7 separate regions of the Homo sapiens genome follow, and all the other regions are linked to region 1. Evidence: promoter capture Hi-C in 16 types of primary human blood cells and fetal thymus (Javierre and others, 2016). All regions are on one chromosome and are shown on one strand. The core of a region is centred on a gene start or on the middle of the fragment in contact, and the rest is flanking DNA. Distances in the headings are between cores, read along the strand shown.

The links. Contacts are between HindIII fragments. The CHiCAGO score rates a contact against its expected background, and 5 or more counts as called.
Region 2: the fragment with the promoter of CHAF1B here is called in contact with the fragment with the promoter of LINC01426 in region 1 in 1 of 17 cell types (neutrophils); the score reaches 8.4 in neutrophils.
Region 3: a contact is called between a fragment that was not itself captured here and the fragment with the promoter of LINC01426 in region 1, in 2 of 17 cell types (neutrophils and total B cells). The highest score is 5.8, in neutrophils.
Region 4: a fragment that was not itself captured here is called in contact with the fragment with the promoter of LINC01426 in region 1 in 5 of 17 cell types (neutrophils, total B cells, monocytes and 2 more); the score reaches 9.9 in neutrophils.
Region 5: a contact is called between a fragment that was not itself captured here and the fragment with the promoter of LINC01426 in region 1, in 2 of 17 cell types (neutrophils and monocytes). The highest score is 6.3, in neutrophils.
Region 6: a fragment that was not itself captured here is called in contact with the fragment with the promoter of LINC01426 in region 1 in 1 of 17 cell types (total B cells); the score reaches 5.2 in total B cells.
Region 7: a fragment that was not itself captured here is called in contact with the fragment with the promoter of LINC01426 in region 1 in 9 of 17 cell types (naive B cells, monocytes, naive CD4 T cells and 6 more); the score reaches 9.2 in naive B cells.

What each region holds. Positions count from the first base shown.
Region 1 is chr21:34,744,299-34,747,520 of GRCh38, forward strand. It overlaps LINC01426 (long intergenic non-protein coding RNA 1426), which reads left to right and starts at 1,527. Exons shown (of 3, transcript NR_038885.1): 1 at 1,527-1,718. RefSeq lists enhancers at 1,406-1,907, 1,908-2,407, 2,614-2,908. The HindIII fragment of the contact is 11,220 bases long and covers 1-3,222 here.
Region 2 is chr21:36,383,799-36,387,020 of GRCh38, forward strand. It overlaps CHAF1B (chromatin assembly factor 1 subunit B), which reads left to right and starts at 1,594. Exons shown (of 14, transcript NM_005441.3): 1 at 1,594-1,653; 2 at 2,262-2,464. The coding sequence starts at 2,339. RefSeq lists silencers at 1,426-1,795, 1,826-1,925 and enhancers at 2,045-2,546, 2,547-3,046. The HindIII fragment of the contact is 16,320 bases long and covers 1-3,222 here.
Region 3 is chr21:36,052,349-36,055,570 of GRCh38, forward strand. It overlaps SETD4 (SET domain containing 4), which reads right to left. Exons shown (of 12, transcript NM_017438.5): 4 at 1,235-1,272. Among named protein-coding and RNA genes, the nearest start is that of SETD4, 6.6 kb to the right of the region's middle. The HindIII fragment of the contact is 982 bases long and covers 995-1,976 here.
Region 4 is chr21:36,002,788-36,006,009 of GRCh38, forward strand. It overlaps LINC01436 (long intergenic non-protein coding RNA 1436), which reads left to right and starts at 2,533. Exons shown (of 2, transcript NR_110419.1): 1 at 2,533-3,078. It overlaps LOC101928269 (a long non-coding RNA gene), which reads right to left and starts at 1,880. Exons shown (of 6, transcript NR_110418.1): 1 at 1,777-1,880. The HindIII fragment of the contact is 669 bases long and covers 1,173-1,841 here.
Region 5 is chr21:35,925,774-35,928,995 of GRCh38, forward strand. No RefSeq gene overlaps it. Among named protein-coding and RNA genes, the nearest start is that of LINC01436, 78 kb to the right of the region's middle. The HindIII fragment of the contact is 3,480 bases long and covers 1-3,222 here.
Region 6 is chr21:35,893,090-35,896,311 of GRCh38, forward strand. No RefSeq gene overlaps it. Among named protein-coding and RNA genes, the nearest start is that of LINC01436, 110 kb to the right of the region's middle. The HindIII fragment of the contact is 529 bases long and covers 1,246-1,774 here.
Region 7 is chr21:35,861,108-35,864,329 of GRCh38, forward strand. No RefSeq gene overlaps it. Among named protein-coding and RNA genes, the nearest start is that of MIR802, 140 kb to the left of the region's middle. The HindIII fragment of the contact is 807 bases long and covers 1,264-2,070 here.

The sequences.
Region 1 (3,222 bases), core at 277-2,776:
TGGCCATAGGCCTTTTCCCAGCCCCACCACGGCATGCCCACCTGTGCTTGGGGAGGGGCGGAGGAAGGAGCCCCAGCCAGCCATGTCCCTGTTTCGTGCTCCAGTGACCACTGCTATGAGGACTTTCCCACTGGCTCAGGCTCAGTTAGTCGAGCTGGTGTGCCCCGCTCTTAGCTGTTCCCCAACTCTCCTAGAGTGTGCTAATTCTGACCCAGCTCTCCCAGGTGGAGGATGCTTTTCAAACATGTCCTTGGGAACCTCTGCAGACCCATTCCCAGCCCATTCTCCATGATTCCAGGCCTGGCCAGGTTGAAAACTTCTGTAAATTAAAACTCAAATAAAGAGAGTATAGCTTGGGCATACCTTTTGCACATGCATATATATGTATGTGTGTGCATGTGTGTGTGTGCATGTATGTGTGTGCATGTATGTGTGTGCATGTGTTGGGATTTTTTATTTTTTAAATTTATATTTATTAAAAAAATTTTTTTTGAAACAAGGTCTTCTTCTGTCTCCCAGGCTGGGCTGCAGTGGTGTGATTATGGCTGACTGCAGCCTCAAACTCCTGGGATCAAGCAACCCTCCCACCTCAGCCTCCCAGAGCACTGGGATTACAGGTTTGAGCCACTGCACCTGGCCTATTTAAAAAGTTTGTCTAGAGCAAAAAGTCCCTAGACCTGCCAGTCCAGGGCACTAAATCACAAGAACACCAAGGCCAAACAGGCTTGAAGTCTCCAGGCTCCTCACTGGCAAACTCTACTTCCTGATCCCTTAGTGGGTTGAGGTGCCAACAGCCCCCTGGGGAGGAGGGGGTTGCATTATGGCCGTGGAGAGACTCTGAGCCTTATCAACGGTGTGGGGATGACACCCTTTTCGGAGCACTTTGTGAGGCTTTGTGCCATGCTGGGCGCTTGGCGTCAGAGACAAATAGAATCAATAACTGTGCAAAAAAAGTTGCCAGATAATTTATCCCATTGGCACCGAGCCTAGAATTATAATCAGATCTTGACTTCTTCAAAGCCTTCTTGCTTTGGATTTTCCAAATCGAAAATAAATATTGGGGGCAATTACCTTTCCTTAGTTCTCTGATGTATGAAGGGGAGTTTTCATCTATTAATTTAAGAACCCTCTCATTTCATTCGGAAGGTATTAGCCCATGGAACTTGTTAACTTAATATCAACACAGTCTGTCTAGGTTTTGACTGAAAAGAGAAAGGGGTTGTTATGCTCTAGGTTAATATTTTCCTCTCTTTAAGAAGTCTTGGGTATGCCAGACACTTCTCGGACAAAAACAGCTGTTTTCTTCCCATTGCTGAACGCATTGTTTGTGCGAGTTCACTTACTTGCTATACTCAGAATATCCTCCAGGAGTCAGCAAATCCCAACCTCTGGACGTGGCTCAGGGCCGCCCTGCCCATTGCTGAGCTGATTTGGAATTTGGGCCTGAGAGAGGAAGTGATTATTGGATGACAGGCTGCCTCCTAGGGGGCTTCTCTGGGCTTGCCATGAAAGCACTTCCGGAGGAAAAGCAGAGCTCCATCAGTCTCTTTTGGAGAGCTGTGAACGTGACCAGACCTATTAATTACTTAACTGAGGTGCTGAACTTTGAAAATGAAAGTTCCGGTGGGGAGTTCTGTCCTTTCCAGCCTGGGGAGCTCTGTCAGGGCTCTCCTGAGCGTCTCTTTCAGCTTATCAAGCTCGCTCGGGGACCGTCTCTGGTAAGTACAGGCAACCCCTCCAGCCAACCCCTCCACCCTGTGGGCCGGGGAAGTGTCTCATCGTTGAATCCACTTGCAGGCACTTCCTTGATCTCAAGCCCCACCACGCTGCCCCCAGAGTCCCAGCGAGTGGCTCAGTCACACTGGTGCGTGCCTCTCACCCGCTCTGACCTCGTCATGGGGTCCCCGAGGTGCTGGTTCATGCAAGGCTCTGTGCCTAACCAAGCTAAACACGGTGGGGCTGGGAGCAGAGGCTCACACCTGTAATCCCAGCACTTTGGGAGGCCAAGGCAGGTGGATCACCTGAGGTCAGGAGTTTGAGACCAGCCTGACCAACATGGTAAAACCCCGACTCTACTGAAAATACAAAAATTAGCCAGGCGTGACATCATGCGCCTGTAATCCCAGCTACTCGGGAGGCTGAGGCAGGAGAATCGCTTGAACCTGGGAGGCGGATGTTGTGGTGAGCCAAGGTCGTGCCACTGTACTCCAGCCTGGGTGACAGAGGGAGACTCCATCTCAAAAATAAATAAATAAACAAACTGGTACAGTGCCCTAGTGGCTTTGTGGCTCTGGCTGGGGGAGGAGGGTGGGTTGCATAACTGAGCAGCACCTCCAAGCACGATACCAACACTGCCCAGGGCCTGGCAGAGTCTACAGCTGGTCCTTATCCATGAAACTGGGGGTGAGGGGACGGGGACTGGCGGGGGGACAAATCACCTGCACAAGTGGAACAAAGATACAGGAGATAATGACAGCAAATGGAACGTAGAGTTGATGCGTTCATTGACAAAGAATTTCACACCCTGCATTATCTCACTTGAGCCCCATGAAGAGCCTGTGAGGTGGCTAGGGATGTGGAAGGAGTAGATAGGAGAGGCACAGAACAGGGGAAGGAAGGAGTGGGGCTGGGAGTGAGGACCAGGAAGGCAGAGCTGGCCCCTGGACAGGAAGAAAGCCCAACTGCCTCCCTCCCTCCCATCTGCCCTCCTGCCTGCCCTTTTCCAATAAGATGGAAATGCTGAAGGGGTTAAAAAGACAGCATTCTAAAAGCTGAGATCCTAAAATTGTGACCTCCCCTGTGATCTTAGCCTTCGTGTCAACAGCATTGAAAATGAACCTTGGTCGGGCACGGTGGCTCACGCCTGTGATCCCAGCACTTTGGGAGGCCGAGGCGAGTGGATCACCTGAGGTCAGGAGTTCAAGGCCAGCCTGGCCAACATGGTGAAACTCTGTCTCTACTTAAAAAAAAAAAAAATTGCCGGGCATGGTGGTGGATACCTGTAATCCCAGCTACTTGGGAGGCTGAGGCAGGATAATTCCTTGAACCCAGGAGGCAGAGGTTGCAGTGAGCTAAGATTGTGCCACTGCACTCCAGCCTGGGCAACAAGAGTGAAACTCTGTCTCAAAAAAAAAAAAAAAGGCAAAAAGAAAATGAACCCCTGGGAAAGTAGGCCTTGACCACTCTGCTGCTCTTATGGAGTTCATTCTTGGAGATGTCGTG
Region 2 (3,222 bases), core at 344-2,843, 1.6 Mb after region 1:
CCGCCACGCCCGACTAATTTTTTGTAATTTTTGTAGAGATGGGGTTTCACCATGTTAGCCAGGATGGCCTCGATCTCCTGACCTCATGATCCGCCCACCTCGGCCTCCTAAAGTGCTGGGATTACAGGCGTGAGCTACCGCGACCGGCAGGAATTCTTTAGTCCAACATTTGTGGTGCAAACTTTGAGGTTTTGAACAAATACTTTTTTTTTTTTTTTTGAGAAAATATTTGACAGCCCAGGGCCTCTCTCTAGAGCCGCATCCCCTGCCCGTGTTGGCTCATCAAGTTGGCACTGAAGTCGGATCTCTAAAATGTTCGCCAAGAAAGCCAACTCCTTCATGTACTTTTAATACTTAAAGCATGTGTTTTTATCTTTTAAATCCACAGTTCAGAGTCGTGACACTTCAAGAGGTGGGCAGATTATTCATTTGTGAATGAACAGCATTTATGAGAAATTTGGAGAAATTTTATGTTTGAGAGACACGAAGAATCCAGAGCTTTCCAAAACAGACTGATGATCACACCCACCGGGGAGTTTATGAAAATGCAAGCCCCTGGAGCACGGGCCTCTGCTGGATATTCGGAATCATGGGGCTGAGTAGGGCCAGGAATCTGTACTTTTAGAACAGCCATATTATCTAAAGTATATAGTCATTCCCAGTCCAAGCTCTGTAAATCCTGAAGAGAAAAATCTAAAAACTGCATATCCGGATTATGTTATTCTAGCTTCCTGTAGAAATCAGGCTTCAAGGAGCATACAGCCATTCTCATCAACATGAGACACGGATTTGTAGGCAATTTCTGTACCTTTCATAAAGCTGGCTAAAAGCATCAGCCGGTATTTATATAAGAATCCATGTCTGTTCTTTTTTTCCAAAAATCCTAGAGCAGTTGGCTCCTCAGATAACCCTGTGTGTTTCTTTTATCCAGTAAAAGCAGCGCATCCAGAGGTACTTGTTTCCTGGCCTTCTGCGAAGCCCACAGATAAATTAGGTCTCATTTGGAAACGTCCCATTTCGAAAAGCCTGAGGTATCTATCTCTGCCTACCGACTGATTTACAGCCTCACTTTAAAATGTTAGTCTGTTCTTAAAAAGGGTTTATAACTGCATCTACTATAATAATAAAATGTAAGCAACCTTGCGCTAGGTACTGAACAATTTCATAGCTTTGAACTCTCCAAAATGTTCTAGAAGCCAATACAGAAAACCCAAAAATCTCAGTTTTTGTTTGCAGAAGGGGCAAGAGAACCGGTTGTGTTAGCCCTCCAAGTGCCCAGCGCCAGCATAGGGTCTGTCTAACACACAGCCCAGGCTCTGTAAACCTTTGCTAAAAGAGCGAATCAACAAGGAATAAGTAATGGATAATAATAATAAATAATAATGAATCCATTCTTCCTTCGGTCGTGGGTCTGGCAGGCATAAATTCCGGCCGGGATTCCGACCCCAGGGCCAGAGCAGGACTCGCCTTGGCGTCTATGAGTGGGCGGGGCTTCCCTGGGGTACCGCCCACGTCGGGCGGGACCTGAGGGCCGCTGGAGGGGCGGGGCGTCTATGAGGTCCCGCCCATGCGGGGGCGGGGCCTGCGGCGCGCGGGAAGCGGCGCGCGCTGCGCGGGAGGTGACGGTGCCTCTGACTGTCCGGGTCCCTCCAGGTACGGCTTCCCTGGCCCGGGCAGCTCCGCGGCTCTTTTGGTCGCGTCGGTCCGGGCCAGAGGCCCTCGCCGAGGGCGGGCCCCTGGGCCCCGGGATAGCTCCGGAGCGGCGCGCGTTGGGGCGGCGGGGCCCCGTCCACCCCCGGCCCCGCGCGGCCTCCTCCCGGCGGCCTCAGTCCCAGCTTCCCGGGCCCAGCGCCCGGTCCCTGGGAAAGGCGGGGTTCTCCTCTCGCCCCGCCGCCCCGGTCCCCTACCCCGTTTGGCCCCCTCTTCCGGGAGGCTCCTCCCGGGGCGGGCCCCTCCCCGGGCTCTCAGGGCGCGCCCCTAGCCCCTACTAAGCGGGGACAGGCCGTGCAGACGGCCGGGGCCCCTAGGTAGCCTTTACCTGGGTGTTTCGTTTTGCTTTTCTGGATGTAGCGGCGTATCATAAACTTGTGGATGTCAGGACCCAGCGAAGCATTTTAGGTGGAGCTAGCAAGGTGTTATTGTCAGATGGCAACGTTAACATCCTTTCCCAATGCAGTGTGCATTTTAAATGGCTCCTGGCCCCTATTCAGCGCTCAATAACCCTTTGCTGCTGTTAACACTGTTGTTTAATCCATCACCAGCATTTTGCAGCTTTCTCCTGTCTTGAAGAAGTAGAACGGTGCCCGAGAAACGTTTTTCCCCTTCGAGACTCAGGAGGATGAAAGTCATCACTTGTGAAATAGCCTGGCACAACAAGGAGCCCGTGTACAGCCTGGACTTCCAGCATGGGACGGCTGGGAGGATCCACAGACTGGCGTCTGCCGGCGTGGACACCAATGTCAGGGTAAACTGGGGCAGAGATAGACATCCGGGAACACTGCTTGAAGCAATAGTTTTCATTCTTTTACTTAAAACCAGTGTCGGCTGGGCGCGGTGGCTTACGCCTGTAATCCCAGTGCTTTGGGAGGCTGAGGTGAGAGGATCGCTTGAGTCCAGGAGTTCGACACCAGCCTGGGCAACAGCCAGACATGAAAAAGTAGCGGGACGTGGCAGTGTGCAGCTGTAGGCCCAGCTACTTGGGAAGTTGAAGTGAGAGGATCGCTTGAGCCTAGGAGTTTGAAGCAAGCAACGATCACTCCACTGCACTCCAGCCTGGGTGACAGAGCCAGACCCTTCTCTTAAGTAAATGAATGAATGAATTAACGTATGTCAACAAACTAAACTACTTTGTCATCTAGCCCAGAATGCTAAATTTCCAGGGCCTGCGGTGAACAATGAAAGCAAAAGAGAGCTGCTTTCTTTTTTTTTTTTTTGAGACGGAGTCTTGCTCTGTTGCCCAGGTGGGAGTGCAGTGGTGCAATCTCGACTTACTGCAACCTCTGTCTCCCAGGTTCAAGCTATTCTCCTGCCTCAGCCTCCCAAATAACTGGGACTACAGCCGCTCATCACCACACCTGGCTAATTTTTGTATTTTTAGTAGAGATGGGGTTTTACCATGTTGGCCAGGCTGGTCTCAAACTCCTGACCTCAGGTGATCCACCCACCTTGGCCTCCCAAAGTGCTGGGATTACAGGCCTGAGCCACCATGCCCGGCTCTGCTTT
Region 3 (3,222 bases), core at 236-2,735, 1.3 Mb after region 1:
CCAGCCTAGCCAAGATGGTGAAACCCTGTCTCTACTAAAAAAAAAAAAAAAAAAAAAAATTAGCTGGGCATGGTGGCACATGCCTGTAATTTCAGCTACTTCAGGAGGCTGAGGCAAAAGAATTGCTTGAACCCAGGAGACGGAGGTTGCAAGGAGCCGAGATCGCGCCACTGCACTCCAGCCTGGGCAACAGAGCAAGACTCTGTCTCAAAAAAAAAAAAAAAAAAGGACGTTTTATCTACTGAAAAAAAAAAGATACCATTCCTTAGCCTAAACATATGTACACATCTGAGTGCAAGTTTTAAATAGAGAATTTAAAATAAGATAATTTTTAAATAAAGGAAGAAATTAATTTCTGGCTTCACAGAAAATCGTGCGCTAGAGATCTTTAAAATAGCATTGGAAGAATGAAAAGAAACCTTGGAGGCTGTCATTTACTTCCTCATTTTGTAGGTGAGGAAACAGGAGCCAAGAGTATGAGGGGTCTCATGCTGGGGCCTCAGGCAGCTGAAGGCAACTCTGGCCCAAGTCTGAGGCCTCATCCTCCCCTAGCTCTGGTTTCTACCTGCCACATCACGACTGCCTCACAGACAGCAGCAGCTCCCTTGGCATACTGAAAACGTGATCTGACATGTAACATGTGCTGTGGCAGAGATTGCTAGTTGCCTATCCCAACACGCCTTCTCTCCCCCTCCTCGCTAACGGAATCCTACTTAGAGGGCACGTGGCTGGGGAAAGGCCAGCACGGATCTCCTCCCTTGCAGCTGGCTAGGGCTGTGTACCTGATCACTGGCCAAGGACAGAGGGACTGGAATTTCCTTAAAGGAAGGAAGCCTGCCCTTCCTCACCCGCTTGCTCTCTCCTGATGCCCAAGTTCCAAGACCCACAACCTGACCTGAGGGTGCAGTTCCCTTAAGGACATGAGAGAGCTGGAAGGAGTTGGGGCCTCTGCCAGCCATGGGACTGCCCCACCAGCCAGGGTCAGCCTACTCCAAGCTTGTTTCTATGAGTGAGAACAAAATAAATTTCCATGCTGCTTAAGCACCTCAATTTTGGGCTTGTCTTTTATTGCAACAAACTTAATCCTAGTTGATAGAACCATATTCAAATATATCTATTAGGTAAGTAAGAAATGACTGTATGTCTGAAATTTTTTTAATTCACTTCGTTTGAACCGCAAAAACAAAGCAGCAAAATCTACATTGGGTTTCAAGGATCAAAGAACAGTTCTCACCTGCAGGGATGTTTGACTCATCAGCCCTCTTCCTGTACCTAGGAAAGCAAAGACAGAAAGAGAGTAAATCCTACCATAACTTCAAGGTCCCAGAGATAACTATTATGGAAAAAAAAAATGTGAACTTCAAAATTACACAAGGCTGAAGCTGGATGTCTCTCAGCCTTTGATTCCCAGGGGAAACAGGGAGTCAGAAAGCTATTCCAGAAAATGTCTTGACCTCCAGTGAGTTATAATCCTTGAAGGGCAGTCAGCTTCAGAGGTGAGACCTAAAGAGCACCGTGGACTTTATACAGACCTACTGCTGGGCCTCCTGCAGGACGCTTTGGGCTGGACTCTCTCCACTGGGGCCTACCAGCTAACAAGGTGCTATTCCCAATGCCCAGCCAACCTCTGAGGCTAGAGCCCCAGGCCACTTATCCCCATTACCAGACTCAGCTCTCCCAAGTGAAGACCTTGAGACCCCTTTGATTGGCCGACTGGCCAATAAACCCCACTCAAGTCCCCACAAAGCCTGCAGACATCCTCCCCTCTCTGATCAGGTAACCCATGAGATGGGCTCTCCATGACCTGGTGAGCTCAGCTGGGTAGGTCAGCTCCAGCTGTTCCCTGTGAGCCAAGGCTCCGGCTGGAGCACAGTCACCATAGTAACCTCAGCAGCTGCATTAATACCAATTAATTCAATAAATTCCTTTATTTAAAAATTAATACCAACTTCCAGAAGTTTCTCCCTTCATGCCTAAGCTTCTGCTCCTGGAACAGTCAGACAAACATTGAAAGGATGCTCAGATGACAGCTTTTCTGGCAGGCATAGGTATTACATGGTCATAAGAGGCCTAGAGCATTAACGTCTCCAATTCATCGTTCTTCACCTTTCCTCTCTTAGCTGGGAGGGAAAATAATTCAGCCAAGTCAGTGCAGGACTACTGGGAGCTCCCAGCTCACGGTGGCTCACTGCCTCAAGTCCTCCATCAGTTTCCCGCAACTTGGATTTGATGCTCCCGGCTCATGGTGGGAATTCCTGCCTCAAGTCCTCCATCGGTTTCCTGGCAGGTTGGATTTGATGCTCCTGGCTCATGGTGGGAATTCCTGCCTCAAGTCCTCCATCGGTTTCCTGGCAGGTTGGATTTGATGCTCCCGGCTCATGGTGGGAATTCCTGCCTCAAGTCTTCCATCAGCTTCCTGGCAGGTTGGATTTGATGCTCCTGGCTCATGGTGGGAATTCCTGCCTCAAGTCTTCCATCAGCTTCCTGGCAGGTTGGATTTGATGCTCCTGGCTCATGGTGGGAATTCCTGCCTCAAGTCTTCCATCAGCTTCCTGGCAGGTTGGATTTGATGCTCCTGGCTCATGGTGGGAATTCCTGCCTCAAGTCCTCCATCAGTTTCCCAGCAAGTTGGATTTGATGAGTCCCAATTCATCTCCCCTCCCAGGAGGACACTGTCTGCTTATACAGCTGGTTCTAGTGTTAACTTATTTCATTGATTTTGTGTACCCCATTGTGGAGTTAATCATCCCTGTGCTCCAGAACTCCTCCTAGAATCAATGACTAATGGGAAGATTTTCTTCTACCTGGTTATCCTTCCAAAAACTTACGTGCTAATCTAAGTGGAAATTCTCTCCAAACATATATATGAACAAAAGCTGGCCTATGGAATACATCTAGAAGATCCTTTACCTATATTTATATGGTAGATAGTGTTTAATATCAAAAAACATATAGTAATCTACACTTACTTTCATTTTCATATTGGATATACTAGGCAAAGTAGAAGTGGCCATTAGGAGCTCATGAGAGTAAAGCTTATCACAAATGTCTCAAAGCCTCAAAATTTCCACTATCATCAATCTACATGGGAGGCCCTGACCTGGCTAGTGCTTTTGGTGGTGAAAGGAAATGCTGCGGTCAGTTCCCAAGGCAGAAAAGAAGAGAGAGTCTAAAGATGGAATCCTGCTTAGGAGATTTCCTGTGCCCCTCCACAAACTAAGA
Region 4 (3,222 bases), core at 257-2,756, 1.3 Mb after region 1:
TCTTTACTTTTTTATATAATTGAAAGGGACTTCCATTCAATCAGAAACGCTTGGACATTCATTTTATATCCAAATGATAAAGTATGTCAAAATACACGTCTTAGAAACCACTTGTATTTAGCTTCTGATGGGAGAAAAAAAATGTGGATACAGCATTTAATAAATAAGGTATGAGAGCTTTTCACTCAATATCCTTATGATCCAAAAATCTGCTGCTGCTAAACTTAAAAGCAATTACTGTTTTATAAACAGTGAGACATAATTCAGAAGGCACTTAATCCAACATGTGTAAAATCTGTGTAAATCATCAAAAGTGACTAGCTGATGGAGATTTCTGGTTTCTGGCACTAAATCGCCATTGGCCTATGGTTCTTAATATTTTCCTTCGTCAAGGTACACGACTATAAAACTCCATGAGGATTGACAAATACCTCTTTTGCAAATGAGCTAACGTAAAATACCTCTTTTGCAAATGGGCCAAGAGGCAGTCTATAACATATGATCATTTAAGGGAGAGGTAAGGTCCTGGAACTAAATTGTCCTAAATTGTGTTAAACCACATGCCCACGACAGACTGAACTCATCCCTACTGATAGATTTTTCTGAAGAGTATAGTGCACAGCCTTTCTGGCAGCTCACAACACTTCTACCAGGCACTCCACAACTGACACCATCAAGGTGAAAACATGCAGATGCCTTCTTAGCCTAACCAATACCATTAGCTCAGATTTCCCATTTATCTTTTTATCCTTTATTATTTTCTCCTTGCTTCCAGCATTGGATTACTTTCTTTTAAGTCATATTTCTTTATATAACTACACTTTCATCCAATGCGTGCCACCTCCCATGGAACTTGTCTCTTTTTGTTTTTTTGTTTGTTGTTTTTTGAGACGGAGTCTTGCTCTTATTGCCCAGGCTGGAGTGCAATGGTGCGATCTTGGCTCACTGCAGCCTCCACCTCCCAGGTTCAAGCGATTCTCCTGCCTCAGCCTCCCGAGTAGCTGGGATTACAGGCATGCGCCCCCACGGCTGGCTAATTTTGTATTTTCAGTAGAGACTAGGTTTCTCCATGTTGGTCAGGCTGGTCTCGAACTGCCGACCTCAGGTGATGTGCCCTCTCGGCCTCCCAAAGTGCTGAGATTACAGGCGTGCGCCAGGAAGTTTTCTCTTTAAGCTTCTCCTGTGCTGGAGAGTTATGGTGACTAATATCTACTAACAATCATTAGCCAAGTGTGATGATAGAAAAGAAGACATAGTTGTGAGTGAAACACAAAAAGAAATAGCGCATAGTACAGACTTTTTTGGAAAAATATTTGTATACTTATGACATATTTTACCATAAGGCACCTGATTCAACACAAATATGGCTGGTGATGGCATCGAATCGGGAAAGCACTCATTGTTAACACCCCCTCTAAAGTGCGAAAAACTCAGGTCATTTTCTCTTGACAATGGCACTGAGGTTCTGAAGAACTTCCACAGACAGGCCCTGTACTCTCCAATTTCTTTTCTAATTGCTGTTACCAAATGATTGACCCAAAAAAGCAAAATATAGGAACATTAACTACATTCTCTTACTGGTAATCTGATGGCATTTTACCTCAGTAAGGAATATTTACAGTGAGCAGTATAAAATATTATATTGACGTCCAATTTCCAAGTGAAAATGACTTGTTCACGGGGTTCACCGTACGCTTATTTATAGGCAACTCTGGTATGAATTATCATCATTATTCATTCATTAACTCATTCAACAAATATTCCTTGAGTTTTTACCAGAAACTACGCCTGGTCCTGGGAACACATTGCGAGATATGCAGACAGGATCCCAGCCTGCAGGAAGCTTCAGTCCAGCATCAGCACTAGAAGGGCAGCAGTTTAGAAAGTGAAAGACTTTACCCAGAGCTTGGAAGCTGGTGCCGGTGGTGGGGGCGGGAGGGGGACGGGGGAGGCAGTGGGGGAGGCAGCAGTGGGGGAGGAGGTGGGGGGGGAGGAGGCGGGGGGGGAAGAGGCGGGGGGCAGGCGGGGGGGGGAGGAGGCGGGGGGAGGCGGGGGGGAGGAGGCGGGGGGAGGCGGGGGGGAGGCAGGGGGAGGCAGGAGAAAGGGGGGGAGGGGGAGGCAGGGGGAGGCAGGGGAAAGGGGGGAGGGGAGGCAGGGGGAAGCAGGGGAAAGGGGGGAGGGGGAGACAGGGGGAGGCAGGGGAAGGGAGGAGGGGGAGGCAGGGGGGGCAGGGGAAAGGGGGGAGGGAGAGGCAGGGGGAGGGGGGAGTCGGGGGGGCCGGGGGAAGGGGTGCGGGGGGGGTGGGTCCGTTGGTGGTATGTGAATAACTCCTCCTCTCTTCTCAGGCCCAGTCCCAAGGCGCAGCGTGCGTCAGCAAGACAGCAGAAGCAGGAGGAGAGCTGGCGGGAAGACATGCACCCCTTGAAGACCCAGAGAGAGGCCGTCTGTCTACCGCGTAGCAGTTACATCAGACTGAGACACTTCCTGTTTACAGGAGACTATAAAATTCCTGCCCCGTGCTCATTTGGGGCTGACGCCATTTTAGGCCTCAGCCCATCTGCACCCAGGCGCTCACTGAAACAGTGTGTTGCTCCACACCGCCTTGTTTTGCTTGTTGGCGCGCTCTCAGGGTTCCGACCAATCCAAGAGCCTTGCAGAAAGCATTAACGTGCTTTTCTCTTTGGCAGAGTTTTTCTTTGCTCTGATCTTGGAGACATCCCTCTGCCTAGTGGAAACATAAGGAATACAGAAAGAATGCAAGGAGATAGACCAACGTGAGATTCTCCTTCATGCACTCAAGAGAAAGATGTTGCAGGAAGAGCTAGTCTTTCAGGCTGGGCTGGTGACCTGAGAAAGAATGTCCAGCTTTTCTTCTCCACTTGGCATATCAAGAGCCAGGCGTGGAAGACTAAAACAGGAAATGTTTATAAAAACTGTTCAGCGGTTCGCCAACAAGAAGTGGTAAAGTAGCAAAAATGGGGATGGAGATGCCAGGAGGAAAGATGCCAGGGGTAAAGTGGGAAAATGGGAACCTGAAGCCAGGAGGTCAAGCCAAGCCAACAGGTGTTCTGTTTTTCAGTGAGTATATCCTGTCTTTCCCCATGTGTCAGTTTATAGAAAGAGCAACCTAACAGGCTGCCCCATATACCAATCCAGAGCTTGGACATGTCCTAGCAAATTCGACAGCCCACAAAGCAGTCTGGGCTGGGGGCGGTGGCACGC
Region 5 (3,222 bases), core at 281-2,780, 1.2 Mb after region 1:
CCCTGAAATCCCTGCTTTGATCTGCCTGACAGGTCACATGGTGTGTGCTTCTGAACACAACCCCTCCCATGGCCGACTTCGAACTGGCAAGCCTGGCAGACATACACACAAGCTAGAAAGACATTTCCTGTAGATACAAGAAAAAGAGGGAGTTCTACCAGGAAACCAATGGCCACAGAGAATTTTTGTTAATTCATTCTTATATATAATAAATAGATTATTTATTATTAATAAATAATCTATTTATTAATTATAATAAATAATCTATTTATTAATTATAATAAATAATCTATTTATTAATTATAATAAATAATCTATTTATTAATTATAATAAATAATCTATTAATAAATAACTTGTTTATTAATTATAATAAATAATTTATTAATAAGTGATTTGTTTATTAATTATTAATAATTTATTAATTATTAATAAATAATTTATTTATTAATTATTAATGATTTTTAATTATTAATTAATATTAAATTTATTTATTTATTAATAGCCTGTTGGTATGTATTTAAGAGCAAAATAACAGTGGCTGTCAAAAACACCCTACATCCTGTCCAATTAGAGAGACCATAACTTATTTAGATCACAAAAAGACCACGATTCTGAAACCTGAAGTCTAATGAGCTGAATTATGTGCTTAACGGAGAAGACTCATGGATGAGCCCTCTTGCAGCTTCTGTTAACCTTTTCTGAAGGCACTGGGTCCTCCACAGATCCTGACTGCAGGCAGAATGGCTGGAATGATGAGATGCCTGTCTTGTAACCAAGACCAGGACATAAGCAGATGCCATTCATCCAGACCCACTTTCTTCCTTGGACCACTGTCTATATAAACAGCCTTTCTGTTATTTCCAGTGTGGCATTACAACAAACCAGACACATTTTTCAGGGCACATTGATCTATCCCAAGGGTGTAGGTCTATTAATTCCCTCGAGGCTGACAGTGGATGCTTCCAGGGAAATCTGAAGGCAAGCACACAACTGAATTTAATGAAAATGATTGATTTTTTTTGGTCCACCCCAAGTATCAAAAAGAAAACAGGCCAGGCAAGGTGGTCCGCACCTGTAATCCCAGCATTTTGGGAATCTAAGGCAGGAGGATAGCTTGAGCCTAGTAGTTTGAGACCAGCCTCGGCAGCATAGTGAGACCCCATCTCTACAAAAAAAAAAAAAAAATTAATTAGCTGGGCATAGTGGTGCTTGCCTGTAGTCCTAGCTACTGGGAAGGCTGAGGTGGGAGGATCACTTGAGCCCAGGAGTCTGAGGCTACAGTGATCAGTGATTCAATGATTGCACCACTCTACTCCAGCCTGGGCAATATGGTCTCTGTGAAAACAGAAAATAAAAAATACAACAAACAGCCATTAACAGACTCAAATTGGTTGGCAAGAGTCAGATCCCACATCAGCTAAAATTGCCACATGATATAAAACACTAAATAATAAATGTTTACCTTTATTAAACATTCAGACCATTTCTGGTTAAGAAAACCCTGAACCTTTTTCACTGCATGGCTTAAGATGCAGGTAAGCTAACCATCATCCTTCCTTTCTCTTGGCAACACTTACGCATACAGATCGGTAATGCCCGTCCCACTGCAATAAAAAAAAAAAATACCACATCGACTCTACATCTGCTGCAATTATCGTCTGGTGTGAAGATCAAAGGGGCCTTTTCCCCTGGCAGATTACTCGTCTACAGTTCCCTGGCCTGTCAGTGTGGTCTCAGCTGCTCCCACTTGTCCCATTGCTGCTCAGGAATCAGCAGCCGCCTAGATCTTCCAGCTATGTGACTGGGCTCATAATGACAGTAATTGCCAGTCTGTTAAGTCACCTCCAACCAAAAAGGAAAATGCCTTCCAGACACACTTCTCAGGCCCATGTGAAGAGATAGGAATGAATTCATAAAAGAAAATTATCCAGTCCTGTTTATACAATGCCACTATGACCAACAGGCTTTTTTCTTATTAATGGCTTTCATTTCTGGGCCACACAGTGGAACAAAGCGCTTATATGTCCACTCCTTGAGACCATTAAGTCCTTGACTTGCTTTGACCATTAAGAAGCCCAAAGAGAGGTGTAGGTCTACCCTTGTACCAGTTCCTCTCTCCCCAAAGTATTTTTGGGGCTGGGGTTGCCTTTGGGATTATACTTGCCCAGAAAAGAGACCATCTGGGTTCTTATCTGCAATGGGAGCTACATGAGATTTAAGCTACGTTCCTTCTCATTTCCTCACTACTTTTCTGTTTACCTTTGATCCTTGTTGGTTATTGTAGGAAGACGTGATTGGTATGGCAATGGGATAATATGTATGACAGTTTCAGTCTTATTTTCCCAGTACAACATGCCAGTTGGATAATTCCTCTGAGTAAATATTAACATGAACATTTTCAATATAAAGCCCATTAGCATCCACAAAACTTTGGAATTGTATGTATATGTTGGATTATACTTTCACAGAGGTGGATTTAAAGAGGTGAAATTTTGGCTGCAATAAAAGATTCATTCAGCTGGGTGTGGTGGTTCACACCTGTAATCCCAGCACTATGGGAGGCCGAGGCGGGTGGATCACGAGGTCAAGAGATAGAGACCATCCTGGCCAACATTGTGAAACCCTGTCTCTACTAAAAATACAAAAATTCGCTGGGCATGGTAGCATGCACCTGTAGTCCCAGCCACTCAGGAAGCTGAGGCAGGGGAATCCCTTGAATCCAGGAGGCAGAGGTTGCAGTGAACTGAGATTTGTGCCACTGCACTCCAGCCTGGCAACATAGCAAGACTCCATCTCAGGAAAAAAAAAAAAAAAAAAAGATTCATTCATTAATGTAATCAGATAATGTACACCTACTTTAAATGTATATAGAATATATCCTTGGAAACACTTGTGTGCTGCTTGAAGTCTCTTATTCTCAGCTCCACTCTCTCTCCTTTCTCCTCCCCTGTGACCCAGGAGCAGAAAGCCTGGAAACTACATTTTCCAAATCCCTCTTGCCAATCAGCCTCTTGTTAGCTTCTACAATGGGAGGCACTAGTAGCAAACTGGAGGTGGAAGCAAGGGAGATGCTATTTTTTCCATCTTCTGGTAGTGCCTCTAGAGATGGTGGTGGCAGCAGCAAAGGCTGGCAAGGGTGGCTTCTGGGATTCTGCTGGGTCAGCTCAGTGTTAATAGCAACAATCTTGGTGGATCAGCAAGCATCATGTTCTCTTTGGCTT
Region 6 (3,222 bases), core at 260-2,759, 1.1 Mb after region 1:
TCCTTATTCATATCTCCTGCTCCAAAGTTTTCCATTGCCACATATACAGGTAATGGTATTTTGCACAAGAAGATAAGCATGATTCAATAGAGGTAGGAGGGTCTGGTAATCAGCTACAACATCAATTGCAATATATGATCACTAGTAACATTCCCAACAGGTGTGGCCCCACCTCTTCCTCTGCATGGAAAACAATTAATGGTATCTTTTTTGCTATCCTTGGATTGTGACTAAAGTATGAGGTGCTTTCATCATAATTAGAGGTGCTGTGTCACCAGGATCTATGTTAATGAGCAACCAGAACTTCCTGGAAGATAATAGCCCAAGAAGCAACCCACTGTCATCAGTGAAGAAGTGACTCTGGGAAGACGTTGGTGCTTGGTTGGTTTCCTGAGCCCGGCCCAGCCCAATCTGCAATATGTAGAGACCGCAACTGAAAAGGGAGGTTGTTTTCACTAACAATATCCAAGGCACTGAGGAAGGGGTGGCTCTGCTTCAGTGACCTTTCATGAAGTACACACCAGGTGAAAAGAGGAATTTGCTCCACAAAAAACTACACAGCTGTGGCTCCTAAGGGCTCCAAGTATCATCAGCACAAGCAGAGGAGATGGCGCCCAGGGCAGCAGCAGAGTGGCCTGGAGGGCAGGTGTCGCTCACCCCAGGGGTGGCAGATGGTCTCAGGTAGACCTGGATGACAACGGAGGAGTCTCTGCTGGCACCTTCCCAGGCATCAAGGAAATAAAATGGCAGCTGCCACACGGTAACTAAGCCCTGGAACCATTTAGGAGAAAGGTTTCTGAGGGCCAATGTCCCAAAGCAGCTAGAAAAATAAGGTCATCAATACTAGTGTGAACCTCTTTTAAGCCCCATGAGTTGTAAGATCTTAACCACAGTCTACAACTTCAAACTTTTTCTAGGATGTAAAAATTGTGGCCTGGTGGCACGGTGGCTCACGCCTGTCATCCCAACACTTTGGGAGGCTGATGTGGGTGGATCACAAGGTCAGGAAATCGAGACCATCCTGGCCAAAATGGGGAAACCTCGTCTCTACTAAAACACAAAAAATTAGTTGAGTGTGGTGGCACACGCCTGTAATCCCAGCTACTTGGAGGCTGAGGCAGGGGAATCACTTGAACCTGGGAGACAGAGATTGCAGTGAGCCAAGATCATGCCACTGTACTCCAGCCGGGCAACAGAGCAAGACTCCGTCTCAAAAAAAAAAAAAAAAATTGCAGACACACTGAAAGCTTGTGGGTTCCTCCAACGGGCAGCTCAGAGATTCCTTCTTCTCTGATCTCTCTTCAGAATCAGGTTTCACCAGCTTAACCTGAGACTTAAAGGTGCTGAAAAATGAAGGTTTCAGGTGAATAAATGGGACTGCAGAACAGAGATTGGCAGCTATCATTATAACCTAGTGCCAAAGGGGTTAGACCCATGGGTTCCACCTGTCTGGTGAATAATCACCTTCACTAAGAAGATGGTCATCTACCAGTTATGACCTGACATCCTACTCAATGCCTTCGAGTAGGAGAGTATAAAGAGTATAAAGAGGACTAGCTATCACTTCTCAGCTTTTGGCTAAGAACAAGTGAAGGGCACCGGCTTTGGAATTGTAAAGATATGAATTCAAATCCCAGTTCTTCTATTTGCTCATAGTATGAATTTTAACAAATTAGGTGACCTCTCTGCTTCTTGGATGCCTCAGCTATCACACAGAATATATCTAATGGGATATTTTGCAGGACTATTTTTCAGCGTTAAATTAAACATGTCAAGCTTCTAACAGAATGCCTGACATATAGTAGTTGCCTTAAAAAAAAAAAAAAAAAAGTAGCTACTGCTATTAACTAGCCAACTTTCAACAGCTCCCCTTATACATAAAGTGGGCATGAAAGCAAATTAGAGCTGGATCCTACTAATGGGGGGCCAGGAACAGTAAATGTGTTTGGAAAGCCATAGGATTTGAGAGAGAAAATCTCACAGATGGCATGATCCAATTCTATCATTTTTTAGTTATAGAACAGAAGCTAAGTGTCAAAATTAGGCCATGCGGTCAATGAGAGACAGAACAGAACACAAATCCATGCTTGGCTATGGTTATGGGTTGAATTGTATGTTCCAGAATAAGATATGTTGGAGTCCTACCCCCAGAAGCTCCAAATGGCCTTACTTAGTAGGATCTTTACAGAGGTCATCAAGTGAAAAGGAGGTCCTTCGTATCATTCTCATGCCTTTGCATTCTCATAGCTTAGTTCCCACTTATGAATGAGAACATGCGATGTTTGGTTTTCCATTCCCCTGGGGGAAAGGGTGGGAGGGGGTTGAGGGATAAAGGACTACAAATTTAGTTCAGTGTATACTGCTCAGGTGATGGGCTCACCAAAATCTCACAAGTCACCCCCAAAGAACTTACTCTTGAAACTACATACCACCATTTCCCCAAAAACCTATGGAAATAAAAAAATAACAAATAAATAAAAGGAGGTGCTCAGGAAGGGCTCTAATCCAATATGCCTGGTGTCTTTATCAAAAGGGGAAATTTGGACACAGAGACATGCACACAGGGAGGACACCCTGTGAAGACTGGAGTTACACTGCCACAGTCAAGGAATTCCAGCAGGTAGAAGAGAGGTCTGGAGTGGATCTTCCCCTGGCACCTTCACAGGGGACCTGGTCCTGCAGACACCTTGATCTCAGACTGCTGGCCTCCAGAAGTCTGAGCTAATACATTTCTGTGGTTTAGCCACTCTGGTTTTGGTATTTTGTTTAGGCAGCCTTAACAAACTAAAATAACTACTTCCCAGTCCACTAAGCCACCATACCAGTAGTTTTCCAATTCTGTTCCGTTGGCCCCTAGGGTCCCGGGTAGATGTTTAATAAGTGGCTCTCAGGAGAGGGTGTGGGAGACCTGATGTGCAGTTGCTGCCAATTTCCATGGTGTAAACACTCCCCCTATGGCCAATTTCAAGCTCCCAGTGTGTGGTCACTGAATGCAGAGCTGGGAATTGCTGCACACAGTCACTCTCATGACCAGGAGGAGACACCAGGAGGTACCTCAGGGATGGCATGGGGTAAGGGGAGGACCAAAGAAGCAGGACGCCAGCATTGCCACCAGCCCAAACTAAGCACTGTATGTATGAGAGCAACACAACTGAAACTGTAAGCTCCACTGCAGTAGCCCATGACCATCAAAGCAACAAACCCACTTCCTTTTCAACCTGA
Region 7 (3,222 bases), core at 417-2,916, 1.1 Mb after region 1:
TGGAAACAATCCTGGAAGAGAGCTGATTCTCAGTCAGCCTCTGACACCCAGACACGATGTGCTTCCAGCAAGACATGTCAGCTCACCAAGCCTTGGTTTCTTATCTATCAAATGGAGCTATTGGCCTGAACGAACTCTAAGGATGCCTCTAACTCCTAAAGTTGATGATTTGTACCTGATAGTCGCTCCAGATCCATAGTGTTCTATGGAGAGCAGTTCTTTGGTGATACGAAGATGAAGGAAAGAACTCAGTGCCACTCACTTCCAGGACTGTGTCCTCATTGAATTTGTCCTGAGGAAAACAGGTGCCAAGTTCCATCTTGACTTTATTAGATGTGAAAACATAGTCAGAGATGAAAGGAAAGGTCACCTCTCCTGGGCAAATAAACTTTCTTTCAGTAAGTCCCCAGGAGATGGATGTGGAGAGCCCAGGGTTTTCCACTTTGAAGTTTAAAATTCCCAGAAAGAGACACTATCCCTAAAGCCAAACCCAGGAGACGGGCTCGAGGTGCCTCCGAAGGCAAAAGCCAGTGGTCTGCTCCATGCCCATGAGATTCAGGGGCTAGAAACAAATGAAAGCCATGATTAAAGTAATTTCATCTATGTGTTTCCAGAGACTAATTATATTTATTGCATCTGACACCAGTCAGGGACAGCAAACATCTTTTGTGAGCCTTACAACAAAAGTTGAAAAGCATTACTCATAATGGCTGATTTTGTTTTATTACATCTGACTCAAAGCCAAAGGTAGACAGCACTTAGAGCTCTCTGTGGACATTAATGTTTGAATGCAATACAGATAGCTTCCCTCTCTGGCTTCCCACCAGCACCCACACATGCTGCCCTCCTGCTCTCAGTATGTATGCAAGTGGTTGTGGAATAGAGAGGCAGTGAAATAGCTCCAGAATTTGTCATGCAGCCACCATATCCCAAGCACATTGCTAGGCACTGATCCTCATAGGTCGATAAAACAAGAGACCCTGCCCTCTAGGGATGCACTGGGCTGGACAACAGCCCACCAACATTACCCTGTAAGGGCAGTATTATGTGCCATAACACAGATAACGTAAGAGTGGGATGCGAAAATATCAAGAAGGAAAGAGTGAGCTCTAGTTGGGAAAAATCAGAAAAGGGGGTGGCATATGAAATAAGCCAGCAAAGAAGAGGTTATGTATTAGGCAGCCACAAATGGGAACTAAATTCTTGGTGCCAAGGACAGCAAGCAAGGTGAGAAACCGAGGAGGGTAGGGCATGTTCAACTAAAGCTTAACATGGCATGTGTTCATATGGGGAAATAGCACATGGTGGCACAGGAACGACGAAGCATGTGGCTGATGGCCTTGAACACTACCTGAAGAGTGGGCCTCTGTTTGAGAGTAAGGAGCATTCATGACCTTGAGCACAGGAGTAAGCTGCAAAGAGCCACACTCTAAGTAGGTTAGTGCAGGAGTGGTGTGAGGTACCCAGGCCGGCAGGGCTTTTAAGAAATTGCCTTCAATGGCCTGGTTGAGAACCACTGCTCCAGAACACAGTCACGCCTGGTGCTAGGGTCTATAGTATTGCTTCAGTGCTACCAAAATGAATATGGTGGGCTTGGTAAGTGTTAATCTGCTGCCTTAAGAACCTATCATAGGTCCATAGATAAATGCAGTTTCAAGCCAGTGCCTTATAAACAACCTTTGAAGACAACCCATTTGTGAGTTATATACTGCCTTCCAAATGATGAAGATTTGCTTCATATCTTTAAGGGGTGTTTCCACTTTTAAAGAGAACTTGCAATCTATTAGAAAAGATGGCAGAATTTTAGACAAAGGATCCAGAAGCTCCATGCATGAAAGTATTTATGTCTACCTGCTCCCATGACATAAGGACAAGAACATAACTCACCATGGAGGTCCCCACTGCTACACAGCAGCCTGTCTATAAGAGCCTTGCACACACACACACAAAGTGGTATGTCTTTAAAATCCATAAAATCTTCACAGAGTTAATTTTACTGGAAAATTGTTCTCTCTTTTTAGAACATTAGTCCCTAAGGACAGACTACAGGGAGAAAACACTGTTTTTATAAGCTTGCCTAAGAAAATTATTACACCCCAAAGTCCATCATGGTTATGAAATTCCATTGCATCCGTCTCTTGTTTATTTACTTTGAAACCAACATTCTAAATCTACTTGGGATACTCAATGCAAAATAATACTAGTTCTGTTTATTTTTATTTGGCTTTAAAGGAAAAAAGTAGGGGAAGAAGAGGGATGAGGTCTCAGTTAATGATCAAGAAAATATGGCAGAAGTTGACATCTACCTGAGATAAATCAAGATCAAATCTTTGTATCTCTTCTTTGTCAATGGATCCTTTCTTCTTTCCAAGCAATACATTTATGTCTTTCTAGATTGATAATTAATATCCCATATTAATTAGGCTCATGCCTATAATCCCAGCATTTTGGGAGGCTGAGGCAGGAAGATCACTTGAGCCCAGAAGTTGGGGATGAGCCTAAGCAACAAGGGAAAACCCTGGATCTACAAAAAATAAAAAATTAACCAGGCATGGTGGCGCACAACTGTAGTCCCACCTACTCAGGAGGCTGAGGCAGGAGGATTGCTTGAGCCCAGGAGGTCAAGGCTACAGTGAGCCAAAATCACGTCACTGCACTCCAGCCAGGGTGAGAGAACAAGACCCCCTGTCTCAAACAAACAAAAAAAAAAAAAAAAAAAAAAAAGACTCAACAGCCACTGGTCAAAGTAGCTCAACCTGAAGATCTCCCTCTGGTCAAGGATGGGGCAATTTGAACTCTCATAAAGATGAGAATTGCAATGGATTAAAACTGATCAAATAAGTTTAAACCCATGAGTTCATAAAGGTATTTTTTCAAACCTACTTGATAAACTTTTGAAAGTCAACAGCATTATCTTGAAAACTTAGTAAATACAAGGAAAACGTAAAACATTTATTTTAGATTCCTTATGAACTAAGCCAGTAAATAACCAACTAGTAGATGAAAGAAAGAATTTTCTAATAAAATCATTACAGCTAATAAATCAAAGCAGAGTGACAGAATCAGAAATCAACAGTCTGCACCCTGCAGTGAAAGAATGGATCTAGGCAATGTGCATCACATCTGCCAACATCAAAAACAAGGAGCCAACAGGCATGTGAAAGAACACAGACTCACCTACAATCCGCCAGCCCAGGAGGCTGAACCTGAGGCTGTTGAAGC